Regions from separate parts of the Homo sapiens genome. Here region 2 is linked to region 1. The links are contacts of gene promoters, found by promoter capture Hi-C in human tissues and cell types (Jung and others, 2019). All regions are on one chromosome and are shown on one strand. The core of a region is centred on a gene start or on the middle of the fragment in contact, and the rest is flanking DNA. Distances in the headings are between cores, read along the strand shown.

Region 1 (7,966 bases), core at 3,444-5,943:
AGTGCAGTGGCCCGATCTCAGCTCACTGCAACCTCCACCCACCGGGTTCAAGTAGTTCTCTGCCTCAGCCTCCTGAGTACCTGGGATTGCAGGCACCTGCCACTACACCTGGCTAATTTTTGTATTTTTAGTAGAGACGGGGTTTCACCATCTTGGCCAGGCTGGTCTTCAACTCCTGACCTCGTGATCTACCCGCTTCGGCCTCCCAAAGTGCTGGGATCATAGGCGTGAGCCACCGCGCCCAGCCAGTTTTGTTTTTTTTTTAAGACAAAATACCCATAACATAAAATTCACTATTTTAGCCATTTTAAAGTGTGCAAAGCAGTGGTTTTTAGTATATTCAAAATGTTATGCTATCATCACCACTACCTCACTTCACACCGTTTTCATCAGCCCAACAAGAAACTTGTGCTGATAAGCAGTCTTTCCCCTCTCCCCATCCCCGACCCCACACAGCCCCTGGCAACTACAGATCAACTTTTTTTCTGTCGCTAGGGATTTGCCTGTTTTGTACATGTCATATAAATGGAATCATACAGCACATGGCCGTTTGTGACTGCCTTCTTTTTGCTCAGCACAGTGTTTTCAAGGTTCATCCATGTTGTAGCAGGGGCCAGGGGTTCATTTGTGTTTATAGCTAAATAATACTCCGTGGTATGGTGAGACCGCCTTTGGTTTACCCCATCCATCCACTGATGAACACGTGGGTTCTTTCTACTTTTTGCTATTTTAAGTTACATATTAGGAAAATGTGTGCACACGTTTTTGTGTGAATGTATGTTCACAATTCTCTTGGGTACCTAGGAGTGGAATTACTGGGCTCTATGGCAATTCTCTTTGACTTTTTGAGGCACTGCCAAACTGATTTCCACAGTGGCTGTATCATTTAGCATTCTCATCAGCGGAGTATGAGGGTTCTAATTTCTGTACATTCTCACCAGTTATTCTGTTGTTATTATTATTGCCATCCTAGTGGATGTGAAGTGGTAACTCGTGGCTTTGATTACATTTCCCTAACGACTAATGACGTTGAGCATCTTTTTATGCACTTACTGGCCATATATATTTACACATACACATACATACATATACACACACACACATATATATATACATACACATATATATATATACACACACATATATATATTTTTTGGAGAGATGTCTATTCTAATCTTCTGTCCATTTTTAATTAGGTTGTTTGTCTTTTTATTGTTTAGTGGTAGGAATTCTTTTTTTTTTTTTTTTTTTAAACAGAGTCTCGCTCTGTTGCCCAGGCTGGAGTGCAGTGGCGCGATCTGGCTCACTGCAAGCTCACCCTCCCGGGTTCACGCAATTCTCCTTCCTCAGCCTCCTGAGTAGCTGGGACTACAGGCGCCGGCCACCACCCCCGGCTAATTTTTTGTATTTTTAGTGGAGACGGGGTTTCACCGTGTTAGCCAGGATGGTCGCGATCTCCTGACTTTGTGATCCGCCTGCCTTGGCCTCCCAAAGTGCTGGGATTACAGGCGTGAGCCACCATGCCCGGCCACAATTCTTTATATAATCCACATAAAGACCCTTATCAGATATATGATTTTCAAATATTTCTCCCACTCTGTGGCTCATCTTTTTACTTTATTGATGGTGTCCTTCAATATATAAAAGTTTCTCATTTTGATGAGGTCCAAGTTATCTATTATTCTTTTGTTGTTTGCACTTGTGACGTCATATTTAAGAAATAATTGCTATTCCAAAGTCCTGAAGATTTACACCTATTTTCCCTTCTAAGGATTTTATAGTCTTAGCTCTTACATTTAGGTCTTGGATCCATTTTGGGTTAATTCTTCTATTGGCTGTGAGGTAGGTAGGGGTCCATGTTTGTTGTTTTGCTTGTAGATGTCTAGTTGTCCCCGTCCCATTTGTTGAAAAGACTCACTTTTACCCACTGAATGGTCTTAGAACCCTTGTCAAAAATGAATTGACCAGGCTGGTCACGGTGGCTCACGCCTGTAATCCCAGCACTTTGGGAGGCCAAGGTGGGCGGATCACGAGGTCAGGAGTTCGAGACCAGCCTCGCCAACTTAGTGAAACCCTGTCTCTACTAAAAATACAAAAATTAGCTGGGTGTGGTGGCACACACCTGTAGTCCCAGCTACTCAGGAGGCTGAGGCAGGAGAATTACTTGAACCTGGGAGGCAGAGGTTGCAGTGAGCCGAGACCATGCCACTGCACTCCAGCCTGAGTGACAGAGTGAGACTCTGTCTCAAAAAAAAAAAAAAAAATCAATTGACCATAGATGGGTTTATTTCTGAATGTTCAATTTTATTCTATTGATTTTTGTGTTTTATCTTTCTGCCAATACCACATTATTTTGATTACTGTGGCTTTGTAGTAAGTTTGTTCTTTTTAAAGATTGTTTTGGCCACTCAGGGCCCCTAGCATTTCTATATAAATATTAGAATATGTTTTTCTATTTCTGCAAAAAAAAAAAGGGCAGTGAAATTTTAATAGGGATTGTATTAGATCTGTAGGTTAATTTTGGGAGTATTGCCATTGTATTAGTCTATTCTCACGCTGCTATAAAGAAATACACGAGACTGGGTAATTCATAAAGAAAAGAGGTTTAATCGGATTATGGTTCCACAAGCTGTACAGAAGACGTAGTGGCTTCTGCTTCTGGAGAGGCCTCAGGAGGCTTCCATTCATGGCGGAAGGCAAAGGGGGAGTGAGGAGCTTCACATAGCCAGAGCAGGAGAGAGGGGGTGGTGATGCACACTTCTAAACAACCGGATCTCCTGAGAACTCACTGTAGGGTACCAAGCGGGGATGGTGCTAACCCATTTATGAGAACTCTGCCCCTATGATCCAATCATTTCTTACCAGGCGCCACCTCCAACACTGAGGATTACAACTAGACATGAGATTTGGTTGGACACAGATCCAAACCATATGAGCTATATTAACAATATTACATCTTCCAATCCATGAACCATGCATGGACCATTCCATTTGTTTAGGTCTTCTTTAATTTCCTTCAATACTGTTCTGTGGTTTTCCATCTACCAGTCTCACACTTCCTTGGTTAAACATGTTTCTTTTATCCCTTCAGATGTTGTTGTAAATAGAATTGTTTCTTTAATTTCATTTTTGGATTGGGGCAGTCTTTTGAAATAAGGACATGAGTGGGAAAAAGCAGAGGATGGCTGTTGACGCCTAGAGAAAAAAGTATAAACACAGAGAAAAAAAAAACAGAAGCCAGAAATTACATAAAAAGGAAGGCACCGGGAAAGATGAGAAAGAACAGGGTTGTGGGAGTACTACACTTAGCAAATGCTTAAGCAAAGTCAAGCTTTCAAGACAAGATTCCTAAAGCAAGGCAGGAGTATCCTAGGACAGACAAAAGCTCACTCGACAAGGCAAAGAGACAAACACCAGAGTTTGGACCCCACCAACTCCCTTAGCCAGCTGGCAATATGGTTTCACCACTTCTTAGAAAAGAGGAATGGAGAGGTGTCCTCAAAAGCCACCACTAGGCTTTCAGAATGTTTTGTGTGTCTGTGTCTTGGCAGAATGAGCCAAACGTACTTTCTTCGTGCCCCATAAGATGAGACACACCCAGCAAAGGCTGTCCTCATACAGAACTACCTCCAGGTGTCTTTTATACTGCAAGACCTGCACCAAAGGGTTCTACCTATAGAAATCCTAGCACCTAGACATAGTCAACCAAGTACATGGCTCCCTCACCCTCCAACCAAAGATGCCATATTTCCATCAGAGTGGAACAAAATCCCACTGTGTTCCTAATGCCTCCTGCAATTTTGCATGTGGGAGACATGGCTGGTATGTGACATTCTCTTCTACAGATTGTAATGGATTGGGGAAGGAGGGGGAACTAGAGTTCAGGCCTATCTTTCTAGAGGACAAAATAAATATGCCTTGATAACTGCAATTATCTGAAAACTATTTCAAAGAAAACTCTTTGTCTCATTCTGGCATTTGCTCAAGGGTATGGCTTTCCATCAGTCTCTCTGTCTCCATGTCTCTTTTACATACATATGTATGTGTATATGCGTGCGTATGTGTACATACATCCATACATATAGACATATTCTCTCTCTCTCCACACACACTCACACACCCCTCCAACCTCTGTGGCTCTGAGCGTCATGTGTGTAAGACACTGACGCGAATGGTGAGTGCCTAGGCAGGGGTCAAACAAAGGCTACCTACCATGCCAGAGGATTGCCACAAACACCTCTTAAGCAAGCATATTCCTTGGCTCCTCCCAGACACACTGAATCTGAATCTCTAGGATTCTGATTTCGGAGCCCAGGAATCCTCCGGTGCAGGAGTTCCCAGGTGACTCTGATGCACCGGGAGGCTGGAGGCGCTCGGATCTAGAGAGGAGGCGGCACTTGTGCAGTGCAGTCGGGAAAGAGAGGAGGGGCTGGGCCGGTGCCTTTAGGCGGTCAGGTGTTAGGACCGGAGTACAAGCCGCCAGCCGCGCGGGAGCAGGCCCCGAGGCAGCCCAGCCGCGGGGCAGTAACCTTTAGCCACACTTGGCCTCCGGCCGCCGCCAGAGCCGCTCCGCCCCCGCCGCCTCGCCCCCACCGCCCCGCCCTCCTATTGGCCGCGTCCCCAGCCGGGCTCGCGGCCTCGGCCAATGGGGCCGGCGCGCGCCGGAAGCCGGAAGCGCGGCAGCGGCGGCGGCGCTCCCCCTCGGCAGCTGTTGTGGGGCACCATGCGAGGCTTCGGGCCAGGCTTGACGGCCAGGCGTCTCCTCCCGCTGCGGTTGCCCCCGCGGCCGCCCGGGCCCCGGCTGGCGAGCGGGCAGGCGGCCGGCGCCCTGGAGCGGGCCATGGACGAGCTGCTGCGCCGCGCGGTGCCGCCGACGCCGGCCTACGAGCTGCGCGAGAAGACACCGGCGCCCGCCGAGGGTCAGTGCGCGGACTTCGTGAGCTTCTACGGTGGGCTGGCCGAGACGGCCCAGCGGGCCGAACTGCTGGGCCGCCTGGCGCGGGGCTTCGGCGTGGACCACGGCCAGGTGGCGGAGCAGAGCGCCGGCGTGCTCCATCTGCGCCAGCAGCAGCGGGAGGCGGCGGTGCTGCTGCAGGCCGAGGACCGGCTGCGCTACGCGCTGGTGCCGCGCTATCGCGGCCTCTTCCACCACATCAGCAAGCTGGACGGCGGCGTGCGCTTCCTGGTGCAGCTGCGGGCCGACCTGCTGGAGGCGCAGGCCCTCAAGCTGGTGGAGGGGCCGGACGTCCGGGTAAGGGGCCGCCGTCGATCCCCCGGCAGCGCGGACTGGCCGCCCTCCTCGAGTAGTCCTCACTTGCCCCCTCCAAGTCCCACACACCCCGCCTTCCCTGCCCGATAGCACGCTCACTTCGCCCGCAGTTACCGCCTGCCAACTGTGTCCCCTTCCCACGCTGTCTGAGTCCTGGCCTCGTCAGAGCACACCCCCGCCTTCCTCCAGTCTGTCCTTGAAGTCCTCACTTGTATAGTGTTTACTAAATACTCAGCACTTGGTGGTCTTTAAGGTAGCTGTCACCTCTCGTACCTGATTAGTGTGTGCTCTACAGTCTTTTGAAATTATTGTAGCTGAGAAGTGTTTCATCTATATGGTATACCTGAACTAGAGCATCAGGCAGCCTTCTGAGACCCTGGATGGTGTTTCAGAAGTTCACTGGGCACCCGCTATGTGTGAGACATTGTCCTGAGAAGTCCTGTGAAATGCACAAAGGTAAATAGGACTCAAGGTCACCACCACCACCCAGGAGTCTCCATGGCTTCTGGCCTTGTCTGTGCTCCATGACTTTTGGGAGGGCATTTAACTCCCTGCGTTCAGTACTTAATGTGATGATTCTGAGTTGACTTGAGGTAATCAGGCATTAGCACAGTTCATTCATGTTAAATGCAGACACATACTTTGAGATTTAAATGATTATGACCCGAAAGAAGGCCTAGAGCAACATATACTCTTCTTTTATACTGTTAGTATTAAATACGGCGAAAAACTAACCTGCCCTTTTTTTATTTTTATTTTTGTTGCCCAGACTGGAGTACAGTGGTGTTATCACGGCTCACTGCAGCCTCGACTTCCCCAGGCTCAAGCAATCTTCCCACCTCAGCCTCCTGAGTAGCTGGGACTACAGGTGCAGGCCACCATGCCCGGCTAATTTTTTTTTTTTTTTTTTTTTTTTGTAGAGAGGGCGTTTCACCATGTGGCCCAGGCTTAACCTGCCCTTTTAATGAACGAAAAATGACGTAAATGTTTCAGGAAGTTTTGGACATTCAGAAGTTTGTTATGTGCAGTTGGTGTTAAAAAAAAATTGAACACTTGAATGATTATGACTTGACCCATTTAAGAACTCTAATACTGGTTTAATAGTTTACATTCCTTCAGTCTTACGTGGGTGATAACACGTATCCCTTTTACAGTAAAGGAGAACATGCTGAGGTTGTGTTACTTGTCCTGAAATTCAGAGCGAAAAGCTCTTGCTGATCACCCACCCTAATCCAGGGTTATTTGCACTACGCTTTATATCACTGTCTTACCGTTAATCAGATGTTTATTAGAAACTTTCTTTTTTGGCTACTTAGATGCATAAAATTGGGCATAATTAAGTATGGGATTAATGTCAAGAGTGACAACAGTGGCCATGATTTGATTCCCCGTGATAGCTGGTTAATTTACAGCGCTAAGTGTTACTGAGGGCCAGGCATCTTTGGCCGTAAGATTCTCAGACAGAAAGCCCACAGTTGCTAATTGCATGACACAGAATCAGTCATGAATTCTTACTGTGTTGAATTATCATGTTCTGGGCTCAAGCCTAGTCTGAATAGCTGAGTTTTTCTGATCCACACTTGGACATAGTACTTGCAGTATATCATCCCCCCATGTAAATGATCAGCTCCTCGAAAACTGGGAAACTTGTCTTTAAATTTCTTGCATAGCAGAATGATGAATGAATCATTGCAATAGATTCCTGGGTGTCCTGGCATAAGACACACTTGACACACTAATCATTCAGCATTTGTGTGGAGGTGAGTCTGCCCCACACTCAGTCATAGATTTTTGAGCCTGAGAGAAAGCCATGAAGGACTTGAAAGGTTTCTGCCCAGCTGAGAGGGTCCTCATATCAGACATTTGGACAGCTTTGTCCCTCATTGATTTCTCACATCCGGTCCAATTCTGAATTCTCTGGTTCTGTGAGATGCTGTGGAATACATCCTTTTGTTCTTCCCCACTCAAGAAAACTCTTGGTTATCGCGTCATTGGGAAGGAACACGTTGCATGGCAACTGAAGACACTCACATCCAGACTTGACTGTTGAGAGAAAGGAGCTGGCCCCTGGGAAATACAGAGGCTGCTGAGTCCTTAGACATTCACAAGTTTCCTTGCTTTTTGACCAAGGCTATTTACAGAAGGGAAAAAAACATTGCATACTGTAATGCTAGGCCAAAAGTCCTGTGGACCAGAGGTGTTTATCAAACAGAATGAATAACGACAGTCTGATCTTTGCCTCTGCATATGGTTTGGACATAATGGCTTCAGGAGCCTTTCTGTGATTGCTTTATTGTGCCCCTTCCATTTCTTTACCTAGAAACCCCAGCCTTATATTCAGTGCATGTAACTGTTAGTAGCTGAACCTATTAATTCCCTTCCCCTTCCCTTGTTCTACGTAGTTGTTTTCTCATATATACACATATATATGTATGTGTATATGTGTGTGTGTGTGTGTGCGTGCGTATATATATATATATATATATATATATATATATATGGTTTTTTGTTTTGTTGTTTACGGTTTTTTGTTTGTGTTTATTTTTTTGTTCATGTTTATGTTTTTTCTTGTTACGTTTCCCAGGCTGGTCTTGAACTCCTGGCCTCAAGCAAGCAATCCTCCAATCCCAAGTGCTGGGATTATAGATAGGTGTGAGCCCAGATGTAATTTTTTTAAAATCCCTGTCGCTTAAATCA
Region 2 (7,966 bases), core at 2,311-4,810, 1.7 Mb before region 1:
TTTCTGAAGTCTTCAGGCTCTCCACGGCTCTTAACAGTCTTTCTAATTTGATTCAGAAAAAATCAATAATAAACCACTAACAACCTTTGCCATTCCTTCCCTAGGATTTTTCTCTTTCCTGAAATAGTTCATTGGTAACTGAGAGGTGACACCAAACATGAGGCAGATAGAAAGCGATATCATGACACACCATAGATAAAAGTCCACTTTTCCCTGAGGCGTGAACACCCACTGAAAGAAATATGGGGGAAATCAGAGAGAAGATTCCTATGGAAGCTCTATGCTCTGTCTAGTAGAGTAAAGTAAGTAGGTCTGGGGGATCAAGCTTTCCACTGAAAGAACCTCTTAGCCTTTTATAATCATAGAATGTGGGACTGGAGTCTTGAGGTATTGGTATTATCTTTTCAAATGATGTGTTTTTATGAGTGATGTATTTGTGTTTGGCTATAAGAAAACAAATCTACTGACTTATGAAGGCTGACAGAGAACAGGGCTTTATTTTTCTTATACGAAGGACACAGGCAATGTTTGTTCAGTGGCTCAAAAATGTCAGGAACACATTGTTGCTCCCATTATTTCTCTGCTTATTGCTTTTACCTCCAGGCCACCCTCCCTTCCATTAAGGCCTGAACCCAGCCATTCTCTGTTGCTTATGGCTTTGTGGTTGCAAGAAGGCTGCTATAGCTTTAGTCCTCATGGCCAAGTTCAAGGCAGAAAGTCAGGGGCAATGGTTTAGGCCACATCGTCGCTTTCATAGGAAAGCGAAATTTTGCTGGTAGTTTCCCAGATGGCTTCCTCTTACATCTCTTTAGCCAGAACTGGCTTCATAGGGCCACCCCTAGACATTAGGGGAGTAGATAAAGTAGATACTGGATCCACTACTGTCATGGACAACAATGAGGGGCTGTGAGTAACAAAGAGGTGGAGGATGGGCATTGGCAGGCACTGAATGGTATCTACCACAGGTGAGGAAGCATACCACTACTCAACACTGGTGGACAGAATATTTTTAAAAACACCTCAGTGTTTATATGATGCAAACAAGTAAGTGCTAGATTATTATGCCAATTATTACCCCAATGCCCTGATAGAATGTAAAACAGAGGTGGGTTATCTGGTTTTGACCACTCTTGACACCTGCAATTGGCTCCAGTGGTCAGGTAGGGTCATCCCCAATGAGATCTATCTGCGTTTTTACATATACAATTCTAACAGCTAATTGTATTGAACTGTGTAGTCAACTAGTAGTATATTTGTCTTGAAACTTTCCAGAATCCCCCAGATTCATCAACAATGAGCAACAAACTAGCATCACGATGCAGGTATTGGCTCATTGACCACCTGAATGACTAATTCCCCACACACTAGCTCACAGTGGAGGTGATTCAAATTAGTGCCTTAGCAAAATTACAAATTGCTACATGTCATGCTCCTCCAGGATCTCTCACAAATTGTCAAAATCATGCATGTTAAATTTGCAAATGAAAAAATGCCTACTGTGTATTCTTTGAAATGCTTTCATGTCATCAGCAAAATTGGTGTACAATGACAATTTTTTGTATTTATTTATGAAAGTATTGAAATGGCTGCAATATTTGTAGTATTTTGTTTAAAAGAGGTAATAAGAGGCCTCCTCCACCCCTTGTCCTCAGATATTGTTCCACTTCAAAGACTGAATTTCCTTCGTCTTACAGGCTTGAATCTATCCTGTAGAGTGGTTGTGAACCAGAGTCCTGTTTAAAATAAATCATCATAAGGTAGCTGGATTCAGGCCTTAATAATAGAAATGGTGCCCTGGAAATGAAAGAGGAGCAGAGTAAGATGATTGACCTAGTTCTGAAGAAAGGGAGGTGGTCAACCTCAGGGGATGGGCTGGGAATTGGGCCTATAAGTCTCCCTTCCACTTTCTGTCTTCTCTACCCCATTGTCCCTTCCATATTTTCCTCTTAAAAAAAAAAACACTATGGGCTACATTCCAGAAATGGGAGTATGCTAAGGTGCCTAGGCATGTACATCTGTATCCATACCTATTCCCATAAGTACACCTATACCTATACCCACACCTATCTATTTGTACTGATTGGTATTAGGCCAACAAAATTGCCAATACATTTGTACTTACAAAATATCAAGGTTTATATAAATATGACAGACTAAAAACCAGTATTGCAGTCACAGATTTTATTGTCTACTGGGTAATATACAACTCTGTAAGAGTGGAAGGCCGTGCATTAGTTGAGCCATCCCCCTGATTTTGTACCTAATGTTCTTTCAAAAACTTGTGCAAAAGTCAGCTATGAAACTTCAATGAGATTACATGTGGGTTCTGTTACTAGAGAGCTGAAAAACATTCTAACGTCCCTAATTACACCTTAGCTTTTAGGCATCATTCTCGATGATTTATACATTCCATACAAGGTCTTTCATTTTATTATTTCCTTTCAAAATAGAGCACAAGTTTGACCAGCTTGAAGTCAATGAGCATCTGATTGAGGCTAATGACTTACCACTTTCCACAGGCCTAATGATTTCTATCTTTGTCTCTATTGTATTGAGTTAATGAGACCTATGCTTATGCCAGGAATCAACATTCATTTTTCTTTCTCCACTCATTTTTGTAAACTAATAAGAACAAATGCAATAAAATAGTTGTATAATTGCACAAACATTGCTTTACCTTCAAATATGGAGATACTACTAAAATGGAAATATTAATTGGCTAACAATGCTACTGTGAAACAGCCAAACATCTACAAATATGAAAAAGCTGATGAAATGTTTGTAAGCTGAATGCATGGAAATTAAACAGTCCATATGTAGTTTTATAGTTGGCTCTCGATTGTATACTATGTGTACAAAAACTAGGGTCAGGATCTAGAACTTCTAATTCCGAATGTGCTCATTAATTTACTTGGCAAATATTTATTGAATTTGTTCAATAAAATTGAACTAATACCAGATAGGCCTGGAGCATCTTCTGTGCCAGAATATAAAAGAGTTCTCAAAAAAGCCCCACAAAAATTAGCATATACTCTTATATGTGATATACTGTACTAGGTGGTAGCACTCTGTTTCATCTGATCCTGAACTAAAACCCTTAGTGACAATCCTCTGATTCTGACTTGTGTTTCGTCTTTTTTGACGCTTCTGATGAGCTCTTTGGCTTTGTGTCTGGTGGTTTTTGCATCGGTGCTGCTTTTGGAAGAGGCTTTCTGGTTGTGACATCTGCCTACTTGAATTCCTTTGTCTAGGGGTAGGAGCCAGGCCATTTTAGAGTCCAAGCATTTCTGCTAATGTGGCTGCATTACTCTGCAAAGTGGGCAAGGAGAATTAAGAGAATCTGTATTGAGTGACAATGTCAAATGGATACAGACCCTACAGCCAAGCATCAAAATTTAGCACTCTTAAGTGATAACCAAATGGTGAGGGAAATGTTTTTTTTCTCCCTCTACTCGTGTGTGTGTGTGTGTGTGTGTGTGTGTGTGTGTGTGTAGCTGATGGTCTGGTAGGAAAAAAAAGCCACTCTGTCATTTGTGAAGTGGCATGGAAAATAAGTTTTCTCTATAGGGAGAGCTTGGGTGTTTGGAAGTCAGCACTGAGGTAGAGTTTGGTGCACAGGATGTTTATCAGATATCAGCACCTGTTGAATGGAGGAGAAAGAAGCCTGGTTGGGTAGAGGGAAAAGTTGAACTGTAATGTAGGTCTGGCAAAGCTTTGGCTGACTCCAGGGAGAGCTCTGAGCATATGTTCTTCATCGCAGTTGACCCTGATGTACTAAAACGGTCGGGCCTTTACAACACCCCTCTATCAATCACTGAATGTGCGTTGCCCCAGGAAGAATGTGCCCTTGGGAAAGGTAGCTCTGTGGCTGAGGCAGATCCTGAAAGAAATGATAACTGGGGTAACGAGTCTTTCCTTGATGGGAGATCTGGTGGGGACACATGTCGATATGACAAAAGTTCTTAGTAAACTGAGAATAGAGGAGAACTTCTTCAGCTTGATAAAGAACATCTAAAAAAACCTACCACTAACATTATATTTAATAATGAGAACTGGGTGTTTTCTCTAAGTTTGGGAACAAAGCAAGGATTTTTTTTCTCACCACCCCTAATCAACATTGTACTGGAAGTCTTTTGTAGTGCAATAAGACAAGAAAAGGAAACAAAAAGTATACAGATTGAGAAGGAAGAAATGCACCTATCTCTGTTCTGTATATTGTCTATTTAGAAAATCACAAAGAATCTACTAATCAATAATTATGGCAAGATCACAAAATATAAGGTAATATATAGATGTCAATTGCTTTCCTATACCAGGAACGGATGATTAGAATTTGGAATAAAAAGATAACAGATATTAATAGTGCCCCCAAAATGAAATACTTAGGTATATATCTAACAAATATGTATAGAATCTCTATGTGGAAAACTATAAAACTCTGACATAAGAAATAAAAGATCAAACTGAATAGATAGTCCGTGTTCATGGATTGAAAGACTCAATATTATTAAGATGTCAATTCTTCCCTACTTGATGTACAGATTCAATGTAATTCCTATCAAAATTCCAGAAAGCTGTATTTTAGATATTGACACACTGATCTAAAATTTATGTGGAAAGGCAAATGACCCCCAAAAACCAACACAATGTTGAAAGAGAAGAACAATGTCTTACTGCAAGACTTGCTACAAAGCTATAGTAATCCAGACGGTGTGATATTGGTGGAGGAACAGACAAACAGGTCAATGGGACAGAGTAGAGAGTCTAGAAGTAGACCCACACAAATATAGCCTAATGATTTTTGACAAAGGAATAAAGGCAGTTTAAGAGAAAAAGGATAGTCTTTTTAAGAAATGGTGCTGAAACTATTGGATGTCCATATGCAAATCAAAACCAAACCAAAACAGAAAAACCCAACCTAGACACAGACCTTACACCTTTCACAAAAATTGACTCAAAATGAATCATAGACCTAAATATAAACCACACACTTGTAAAGCTTCTAGAAGATAATACAGGAGAAAATCTACGTGACCTTTTATTTACCAATGGGTTTTTAGATACAATACCAAAAACATGATTTATGAAAGAAAAATTGACAAGTTGGACCTTATTAAATGAACAAAGTCTGAAAAAGTGGACTTTTAAGAGCCACTGTTAAGAGAATGAAAAGAAAAACCACAGATTGGGAGAAAATATGTATAAAGCTTATGTCTGAAAAAGGGCTTGTATCCAAAATATACAGAGAATCCTTAGAACTCAGCAATAAGAGAACAAAAAACTCAATTTAAAAAGGGACAAAAGATCTGAATGATCACCTCACCAAAGAAGATATACAGATGGTAAATAAGCATATGAAAGAATGCAAACCATCATTTGCCATTAGGGAACTGAAAATTAAAATAATGAGATATCACTACACCTCCTAGAATGACTAAAACTAAACAAAGAAAACCACCCGATAGTACCAATTGCTGGCAAGGATGTGGAGCGACAAGAATGCTCGTTCATTTGTGGTGGGAACGTAAATGGTACTGTAGCTTTGGAAGACAATTTGGCAGTTTCTCGTAAAGCTAAACACAGTGTTACCACACAATCTAGCAGTACACTCCTAGTTATTTCTCCAGCTGATCTGAAAACTTATGTTTACACAAAAGCCTGCCTAGAAATGTTTGTAGCAGCTTTATTTATAACCACCAATAACTGGAAGCAACCAAGATGCGCTTCAATAGATGAGTGGGTAAACTGTAGTCCACTCATTCTATGGCATATTATGCAGAGAGATGAAACTTAAATGCATATTGCTAGTTGGAGAAAGCTAGCCTTAAAAGGCTACATATTGTTTGATTTCAATGATATGACATTTTGGAAAAGGCAAAACTATAAAGACGACACAAAAATAAATGATTGCGAGGGGCTTGGGTGAGGGGAAGGGAGGGTTGAATAGGTGAAGCGTAGAGTTTTCTTTTTAGGGCAGTGATATTATTCTGTATAATACTATAATTGTGACAAATAAGATTATGTATCTATCAAAATCCATTGACCTTTAACACACAAACAGTGAACCTTAATGTACACAAGTTTAAAAAAGCATTTAGGAAGTCATGGAAATTTAGGATGGAACATAGACTGTGACACAACAGTCTAACTGTATCACAGTATGTGAAACAATTTCACTGAAAGGAGTTGGGGAACAGGTACTGACCTAAGTAACTTTGGAAATGAGTGGAATTTGTAAAACTAGAGGCAAAAGAATTATTGTATTTTAGTTGATAAATTTGTATCTCATGGGAGTGTGGGTTAGCAATTCAGATGCTTTTACACATCTGTATTGGAATTGAACTGATGTCAGCTTAATAGATATGGATAGTTACATGAAGAAATATTTGTAGGTATGTGTATGTACTTGAGTTGGTATACACACATATATTTCCTTGCTTGTTCAGCTGAGTGGGCCTAGTGTCAACAATGTCCCAGTAGCAACCAGTGCACCTGGTACCCAGATTATGGGTACCAGGAAGCTAGGTCTTCCTGGATTTAAAGACTTGGAGCAGGAAATACACCAGATAAGCCTGGAGCATCTTATGTGCCAGAAAGTTCTAAAAAAAAAAAAAAGAAAACCCACATTTAGTTCTTTAAGGAATTTCCATAATGGGTGTAGTAGTTTACATTCTCACCAGCATTGTAAAAGTGTTCCCTTTCACCACATCCACACCAATATCTACTATTTTTTGATTTTAAAATTATGGCCGTTCTTGCAGGAGTAAAGTGGTATTGCACTGTGGTTTTGATTTGCATTTCCATGATAATTAGTGATGTTGGGCTTTTTTTATATGTTTATTGGCCATTTGTGTATCTTGCTTTGAGAATTTTCTATTCATGTCCTTAGCCCACTTTTTGATAGGATTATTTATAATTTTCTTGCTGATTTGTTTGAGTTCCTTGTAGATTCTGGATATTAGTCCTTTCTCAGATGCATAGTTTGAGAATATTTTCTCCCAGTCTGTGGGTTATCTGTTTACTCTGCTTTTTATTTCTTTTACCATGCAGACGTTTTGGGTGGGAGTGCGTGATGGATAAAAGACTGCACACTGGGTACAGCATACACTGCTCGGGTGATGGGTACACCAAAATCTCGGAAATATCTTCTTTAGTGAGGTAATCGTTCAGATCTCTTGCCCATTTATAAATTGGGTTTTTTATTCTCTTATTGCTGAGTTCTAAGAATCCCCTGTATATTTCGGGTACAATCCCTTTTTCAGAAAATTGGAAATAATCACTAAATAACTTATCCATGTAACCAGACACCACTTGTTCCCCAAAAACCGACTGAAATAAATAAAAATCCCACAAAAACAATCCCCACCCCAAAACTCTCCCCCTCAAAACAAAGCAAAACAAAACAAAAAACTCCACAACAATTGGGTGTGTCAAAGAGACATAGAAGACAACTGCAAGAGCTCCCAATGGCCAACTGGGGACAATGTGCTCTATAAAATAGAGTAGTATTGGATTATAGCCCAAGGTATGAAATCAATATCCATGCATTCATACTGATGTAAATAAATGATTAAATAAACAAATAGATGGGGGGGATACACAAATATCCTATGCAGAAGAAATGCAAGTAATTTATGTAGATACTCTTTGCTCCAAGGGGTTGGAGCATGGCTCCCATTTCTTTAGTGTGGGCTGTGCATTGTGACTTCTTCAAAAGAGTGAAGTCTGGAAAGGAGAGGAAGGGGAGTGTAACTTTGCATTGACAAACCTGGCAAACACGTCCTCAGTTGGAAGATTAAGGTCAAAATTAACAGTGACAAATTATGTTGATAGCATGCACCTTTGATATGATGTGATGAGAATGTCACTTTACCTCTGTGGTCTTCTTCTCTGCAACCTTGGTTTAATCATGAGAAAAAGATCAGACAAATTCCAATTGTTTCACATTGTACAAAATACTTGACCG

What was found. The method cuts DNA at HindIII sites, captures the fragments that hold promoters and counts their contacts. A contact is called where the count stands out against the background at its distance.
Region 2: a contact is called between a fragment that was not itself captured here and the fragment with the promoter of MLYCD in region 1, in 1 of the 25 tissues and cell types used here (dorsolateral prefrontal cortex).

The regions. Positions count from the first base shown.
Region 1 is chr16:83,894,422-83,902,387 of GRCh38, forward strand. It overlaps MLYCD (malonyl-CoA decarboxylase), which reads left to right and starts at 4,694. Exons shown (of 5, transcript NM_012213.3): 1 at 4,694-5,251. The coding sequence starts at 4,724. RefSeq lists silencers at 4,464-4,893, 5,194-5,363. The HindIII fragment of the contact is 9,996 bases long and covers 1-7,418 here.
Region 2 is chr16:82,231,672-82,239,637 of GRCh38, forward strand. No RefSeq gene overlaps it. Among named protein-coding and RNA genes, the nearest start is that of MPHOSPH6, 65 kb to the left of the region's middle. The HindIII fragment of the contact is 3,085 bases long and covers 2,019-5,103 here.